Linked DNA regions of Homo sapiens: region 1 is linked to region 2. Evidence: promoter capture Hi-C in 16 types of primary human blood cells and fetal thymus (Javierre and others, 2016). All regions are on one chromosome and are shown on one strand. The core of a region is centred on a gene start or on the middle of the fragment in contact, and the rest is flanking DNA. Distances in the headings are between cores, read along the strand shown. Region 1 holds the start of NOVA2 (NOVA alternative splicing regulator 2). Region 2 holds the start of RSPH6A (radial spoke head 6 homolog A).

Evidence for each region. The method cuts DNA at HindIII sites, captures the fragments that hold promoters and counts their contacts. A CHiCAGO score of 5 or more calls a contact.
Region 1: the fragment with the promoter of NOVA2 here is called in contact with the fragment with the promoter of RSPH6A in region 2 in 3 of 17 cell types (neutrophils, total B cells and M0 macrophages); the score reaches 7.5 in neutrophils.

Annotation. Positions count from the first base shown.
Region 1 is chr19:45,971,757-45,975,521 of GRCh38, forward strand. NOVA2 (NOVA alternative splicing regulator 2) reads right to left here and starts at 2,109. Exons shown (of 4, transcript NM_002516.4): 1 at 1,511-2,109. The coding sequence starts at 1,595. RefSeq lists a silencer at 2,275-2,434. The HindIII fragment of the contact is 31,968 bases long and covers 1-3,765 here.
Region 2 is chr19:45,813,376-45,816,957 of GRCh38, forward strand. It overlaps RSPH6A (radial spoke head 6 homolog A), which reads right to left and starts at 1,933. Exons shown (of 6, transcript NM_030785.4): 1 at 1,152-1,933. The coding sequence starts at 1,801. SYMPK (symplekin scaffold protein) reads right to left here. Exons shown (of 27, transcript NM_004819.3): 24 at 3,423-3,582; 25 at 3,107-3,202; 26 at 2,476-2,808; 27 at 2,035-2,322. The coding sequence ends at 2,185. The HindIII fragment of the contact is 28,371 bases long and covers 1-3,582 here.

The DNA of each region.
Region 1 (3,765 bases), core at 859-3,358, 160 kb after region 2:
TGACCGCGGGGAGGGGCTTGTCCGCTGCGGGGTCTCCCTCCTACCAGGGAGCTAGAGGACAGGGCTCTGAGGACCCCAAAAAACCCCACCTCTTCCCTGAGCCCCCCACGGCAGGGCATGCACCTAGAGTTCCCAGCTCGGCTTTTCTTCTCTGGTACACACACCTCCTTGGGTCACACACCCAGGGAGAGCCCCTCTCTTCCCTCACACTGCCTTCCGTGGTGTCAAACATTCGGCAATCTCCAATACACACGGACACACACACAGCCTCCCTTGTCAAACACATGCAGAATCATCCCCATATCTCTGGTGTCACACACTCAGCCATTTCACACACACACCTCTCCTTGTTACACCCATACACACAGCTGGGTGTCATATGCACACGTGCCCTGTCACATGGGGACCCATCCTTCCTTCTCCTTTTTACACACCCTCGTGCGTTTCACCCACAAGCCCCAGCCTCTCCCTCGTCATACACCCACCTTCCCTGTTGCACACACCCCCTCTGATGTCACTGTTGCACACCTCCATGTGTCACACCCAGCCACAGCCTCTCTGGAGTCACACCCACACCCTTTTCTTGTCACATCCCCTCACCAGCCACGCCTGTGTCACACACACTGGACCCCTTTCCTCTGATCTACACGGCCTCTTCTGGCTGACACCCAGAGCCAGCCCATTCGGTGTCCCCCACACACCTCCTTGCATGTCACACACACCCTCTCATGTGTCACACTCTGCCACAGCCCCCTTGGGGGTGACAAGCACACACCTTTCCTTGTCACACGTACCCGCTGGAGGGTCTCAAACATGGAGCCCAGCCCCTGTCCCCTGTCTTTCTCATACACCCCCCTATGCTGTCATATTCCTGATCCCTAATGTCACACATCCAGGCTGTAGAGGGCACACATACACACACACGCACACACATACACACCTGTCCTAGCCTCACATTCTCCCACCTAGCTTTACACACCCACCATTTCCTCCATTTCACCCCACACACCTACCCAGCCTGTCCCCACGCACGATCCGGCCAGGGCCACACAAGCCTCCATCTGGGACAACCCTTGTTCAGGACATCCCCAGGGAGGGAGGCTGGGAAGCTCCCGGTCCACAGGCCTCTACTCCTTCCCCTCCCCCAGCCAGGACACGCGAGCTCGGGGAACACCCCTGCTCCGAAAGGGTCACATCACACACCCCTCAAGGACACACAGACACCTGCCCTGAGGCTCCCACGCCCCCCATCTTCTGCGCCCCCCAAGGACACTTATCACCCCCTCCCCCCCACCCCTCTCCTCGCAGACAAAGCTCCCAGCCCCGGGCCTCAGCGAGAGGAGGAGGGGGTCCAGCCCCCTCCTCAACTCCCCGCTCTGTCCCCCGCCTCGGGGAGGGGTGTCTCTCCCCTCCCCAGAGCCCTTGCACCTGCCACGGGAGGGGGGGAAAGGATGGAGAAAGGCGAGGCCCCCTGCCCGCTCCCCCGCCCCGAGCCGCAGCCCTTTCTCACCTCCCGTGTTGCTGCGCTTGGTGCAGACCACCTCGGGGGGCGTTTCGAGGGGCCTCTTGCGGGAATCCGGGGCCTCGGGCTCCATGGGGGGGGCCTGGGGCGGCGGCTGCTGCTGCTGCGGCGGCTGCGGCGGCGGCGGCGGCGGCTGCTGTGGCGGCGGCGACGGCTGCTGGGGAGGCTGGGGTTGCGGCGGCGGCGGCGGCGGGGGCGGCGGCGGCTGCGGGGCCGCGGAGGCCGTGAAGAGGCCGTGCACCGCGCCGGCGGCCATCATCCTCATGGTGGGGGGGGGCGGGGGGCGGGGGGCGGGGGAGGGGGAGGGGAGGGGAGGTGGGAGGGGGAGGGGGCGGTGGAGGGATGGGGGAGGGGGAGCCCCGGAGAGGGAAGGCGGGGGTAGGGGGGAGCCGGTTCTCGGGGGGCTGACAGAGCCTGGAGAGCGGCCGTGAGCAGGATGGCAGGGCCGAGGGGGGTCTCCGATAGGGCCGGGAAAGAACTGAGAGGTGGGGTCTCTCCTGGGACCACAGAGGCTGGGGACTGGACGCGCCACTGGGGGGACGGGACTCCCCGCTTCTTCTTGGCTCCCTGGGGCAAGAGGGCCGAGCCCCCCAGACCCTGCTCGGGGTGGGGGGCCGGAGGAGCGTGGCCGGAGTGGGAGGCGGAGGCGGCCGCTAGTGGGGGCCCGGGGGGCGGCGGGCGCGGGCGGCGGCGGCGACGGGGCTGGCGGTGGCTGCTGGCCCGAGCATCTTCTTCCCGGAGGCTCCCACAGCGCCTGGCCCCTCCCACCCAACGAGGTCACGCCCATGCCGGGTAGGGCCACGCCCTTCGGCGCCCCCATTGGTCCAGCCTTGAAGCCTGGACCACGTCCCTCTGGGTTGGCCACGCCCCTCCCGGCGGCAGAGAGCTGGACCCGACTCCCCCAGGCTGCTGGGAGGACCCCGGGCTCCTCCAAGCCGTCCCCACTCCTCACCTTGAATGAACGTTTATTGAGCACTTACTGTGTGCCAGGTCCGGTTCCAAGCAAGCACGTCACAGACGTTATCGCATTTACTCCCCAGAGCGACCAGCTCTGTGAGTTACGCTTATTATCCCTATTTTACAGATGAGGAAACAGCCTTAGGAGCTTACTTTGACTTCACTTGGTCAAGACAAGAAATTTCGACTAGGCGCGGTGGTTCATGCCTGTCATCCCAGCACTTTGGGAGGCCGAGGCGGAAGAATCACTTGAGCCCAGGAGTTTGAGACGAGCTGGGCAACAATATTGTGAGACCCCATCTCTACAAAAAAAAAATTTTTTTTTTAATTAGCCAGGCGTGGTAGCACATGCTTGTAGCCCCAGGTACTCTGGAGTCTGAGGTGGGAGGATCTCTTGAGCACAGGAGTTTGAGGCTGCAGTCAGCCATGATCAAGCAACTAGATTCGAGCCTGGGAGACAGAGCAAAACCTTGTCTCAAAAAAAAAAAAAAAAAAGAAAGAAAGAAAGAGAAAGAAATTTCACTTCACTCTTTTTCAATCCTTTCAGCTGGGAAATTCCCCTTCAAATCTTTCATCCATCCTTTGAAGAATCAACACCGTGATGCTGAAAGGGCTCAGAGGATTGAATTCACTGAGCTGGAGTTGCAGCCTGCAGCACCTGCCCTGGGGCACAACTGGCTCTCCATTCAAACAACAGCACTCAGGGCCTACCTACTAAGTGCCAGGCACTGTCCCTGATGCTGCGATACAATAGAGAACAAAACAGCCTTGGCCCTTGTACAGTATTACTACTCATGTCATTAAGAAAAATTTGTTTTCAGATGACAAAGTGGAGGCCTGGGAACATTGAGGGTGGCTTCTTCAAGGGCACACAGCTTGAGAGAGAGAAACTGGGATGAGAACGCAGGACAAGTCCAATTTCAGAGCCCAAAGTCATTGGAACTAGGGTGCCTTTCTTTGGAATGGATCATTGCTATTATTCTGTGTTCCTTGATGCAAGAATTTCCTTCTCCCTGGGTTCTTAACCTCCAAGGAATCTTTCCTTCCTGGGTTGGTCAGAGGCAAGATTAGGCTCAGAAGGGGTCTGGATGCAGGTAATTGTGGCCACTGCGTGATCTGCGGCAGGGGGATCGGCTCCAACCCCCCCCTGCTCCTCCCTTGCCATGCTCTCAGGTCCCCAGGATGGGGGAGGGTAGCAGATGGCCTGGGGTGGATGGGGTGGCTACCCATCTGTCCCCTCCCCCCCATTGTCCCCAGAGCCAAGGGGGATGGGAGGGGGCTGTGGT
Region 2 (3,582 bases), core at 683-3,182:
CTCTGTTGCCCAGGCTGGAGTGCAGTGGCACGATCTCGGCTCACTGCAACCTCTGCCGCCCGGGTTCAAGTGATTCTCCTGCCTCAACCTCCCGAGGAGCTGGGATTACAGGCCCATGCTACCATGCCCTGATAATTTTTGTATTTTTTAGTAGAGACAGGGTTTCGCCATGTTGGCAAGGCTGGTCTCGAACTCCTGACCTCAGGTGATCCGCCCGTCTTGGCCTCCTCAAGTGCTGGGATAACAGGCGTGAGCCACCGCACCTGGTTGGACCCCCACTATTTCATGTGTTCCCTAGCCCTCTTAGCCTCCCTTATTTTTCACCTGAGTCCTTAGCTTCAGTTTATCACTTTTTCTGTTTCTTGTCCACTCTCCTAGAATGAGAGCATCCTGGGTATCTAATGGAGGCTGAGAGCAGTGTTTTGTGACTGTAGCTAAGTGGCTTTGGCAAGTATCTTCCTCAGGCAGGGAGGTTTAGTTGCAGGATAAGAGGGTCTCAGGAGGGCTGGGCACGGTGGTTCATGCCTGCAATCCTAGCACTTTGGGAGGCTGAGATGGGCGGATCACTTGAGGTCGAGTTTGAGACTAGCCTGGGCAACATGGTGAAATCTTGCCTCTACTAAAAATACAAAAATTAGCTGGGTGAAGTGGAGCGCGCCTGTAACCCCAACTACTCGGGAGGCTGAAGCAGAAGAATCACTTGAACTTGGGAAGGAGAGGTTGCCCTAAGCCAAGACCACGCCACTGTGCTCCAGCCTGGGTGACAGGGTGAGACTATGTCTGGGGGAAAAAAAAAGCAAGAGGGCTTGGGGAGCCAAATCACGTGTTCTGGAATCCTGACTCTGCCATATCCTAGCTGTGTAGTTTTGGGTAAGCGACCCAACTTCTCTGTGTCTCGGTCTCCTCCTCTGTAAAGTAGGATGAGCTGATGTGCTCATCTCCGGTGAGAATTAGGTGAGTGTGTGCAGTGCCAGCACATGTCTGGGAAGTGAATGCTAGCTGTTGTTGGCATTGATTCCGACTCAGCTGAATTAGAGTCACTGGTTTTCCATGAGGGATGATCCCTTGTCTGACTGACTGAGGCAGGCACTTCGGGTGGGGCCCCTCCCTGCCTGGGTCCCCCACCCGCCCCACTCCTAGCCCCTGCTCACAGGCTGAGGTCGCAATTGATGCTGGTCTGCAGCAGGTAGGCCTTGGCGTTCTGCACGGCCAGCTCCAGAGGCTCGGGCTCAGGCACCTGGGCACTGTAGTGTGGGAAGCCCAGCTCAGAGGGCAAGAACTGAAGGGCAGGGTCATCCCTTATGTAAGGCCCGTGCTGGGCACCTTCAGAGAACTGGTCTGTCTGGTAGAGGTTGAACTGGCCCAAGGGGTTGACTGGGGGCTCCTGGAAGGTGGGGTCCAGTTGCTGGAACAGGCTGCTTTGGCCCTGCTGGAGCCGCTGCAGCATTAGGCTGGTGGTGAGCTCGGCGACCTGCATCCTGCTTTCATCAGAGTAAGGCTGAGGCTGGAACTCTGAGGGAAAGCCCGTGTTCACAGATGGGTACTCCATGCCACCCAGCCGGGCTTCCTCAGCCTGGAAGACCTGGGGCATCAGCAAGTTCTCCTGTTGGGACAGGCTGCCCCTCTGTGACCAACCAGGGGCGTTTCGCTGGGCGTCTGGAGGTATCTGCTGCCTCTCCTCGGGGTCCGCTGCCAGGGCCTGAGCTTGGTCCCGACTGTGCCGCCTCTGGGAGGCCTGAGAAGTCCTCCGGCCCGGAGGCTGCTGGGCAGGGCGCTCAGGGTAGGGCGGCAGGTCTCCCATGGTTCGCCAGGAGGCACAGATCTCTAGGAGAAAGGCTTGCAGACAAGGAGGCCAAGCGAGAGCCACCTGTCGACACCGCCGGTTTCTGAGCACCGAGAGAGGGGGCCGTTACCCGTGGAGGGCGCGGGGAGCGGGCCAGGGTGGGTTCCGCGCAGGCTCTGGGCGCGCACTCCCGATCCCGCGCAGCCCCACGGTGGACGTCGCGCCAGACTCGAGACGGCACCCGCGCCCCAGGCCCGCCATCCCTTTTTTTTTTTCTTTTCAGTAACTTGCCCAAGTTCACATCTTTTATTTCTTTTTAAGGCAAAGCACCCGCAGGTCAAGCCCCGCCCCGTCCCCCAGCCCCGAGTCCCTGTCCCACCCCCTTTCCCCCTCGAGCCCCGTCAGCTGTTCCCCTTGGCCTCGGGTTCCCTGGCGTCCTCGGCAGCCGGGCTGGGAGTCTTCATAGCATCTTCTCCAACAGGTGCGAGGGTCTGGGGGCTCCGCTCCTCCTTCAAGGTCAGCCCGCCCGCTGCCGTCTCCTGGTGACCGGGGAAGGAAAGGGCAGCCGGGTGGAGGGCGCGGTCACCTCCACGCTCCCCTTCAGGCCCTGCCCCCTGATGGCCCCTCCTCCCCCACCTTCACCCCGGCCCAGATCCGGCTTCTTCCTTCGCAGCGGAGGCTGCTCTCCCTACCTTGGGTAGGGGGCCCTCGAGACTAGAGTCCAACAGCGCGGCCTCGGTCAGCCCCGAGTCGTCATCCATGCTGATGAAGATGCCCGGGGTCTCGCACTCAGGCCCCTCCTCCCGGAAATCCATGGCTTCCTCAGACGGGGGCGGGCCTGGCCGGGCCGACGGAGAGGGAGAGGGGGAGGAAGAGGAGGGGGCTCCCACTCCTCCCGGCTTCAGCTTCTGTTCCTCCTCCAGCTGCCGCTTTAAGGCCTTCTCCTGGGCCAGTCGCAGGCCGATGAGGTCCTGAGGGGGCCGGGGTGCTGGGGCCGGGGCCAAGGTCAGGGGCTCCAGATCATCCTGGGGATAGGGAGGGCCACACAGAAGCTCAGAGGTGGGTGGCTCAGAGGACGGCCGGAAAGAGAAGGAACCACCCTGAGGTGGTCTTTGAGTTCTTCACCAAGAGCATGGGGAGGAAGGGGCAGTTGTCCCCCAGACCCCCAACTCCCAGCAGGAGCATCCCCTGGGAGACGGGTGGCCCAGAGGCAGGGGTGGCCTGAGTCTCTCGGGGTCAGGAGGAGGCCATGGTGAGCCTTGCTGGCTTGGGGTAGGGGGTGGGAGTCTGGGGATCCAGATGGGTGGGCTGCAGGGCCCTCACCTCCTCCAAGGGCCCCGCAGGCGCCTCCTTGGCCTCTGGCTCCTGCTTGCCGCTGGCCTCCAAGATGGTCATGATGGAGTTAGGGATGTGAGCTTGCTGGGTGGAGAGCAGGAAGGGGGCGCTGGGGGCAGCTCTGGCACAGAGACCCCATTTGCACACCTCAGGTCCGGGGGCCCTAACCCTCCAGAACTCCCAGCAGTGCAGGGCCTTCTTGTGTCCGCCTCCATCCAGTCCCCACCAACCAGAGGGACCCAGGGGGCCGCCCACCGCACACCCTGGGTGGGGGGAAAGGGTACCTGGTGGGGGGAAGGGGTACCTGGTGGGGGGTGAAGGAGCGGACATGGGCCAGCAGGGGCTCCCGGAGCTCTGGGCACTTGTCAAAGACGGCTCCCAGCTGCTGGGGCGGCAGCTGCAGGATGACCTGGAAGCTCTGGGGCTTTGTGCGCTGGCAGCACTTGATGAAGCCCTCCCACACC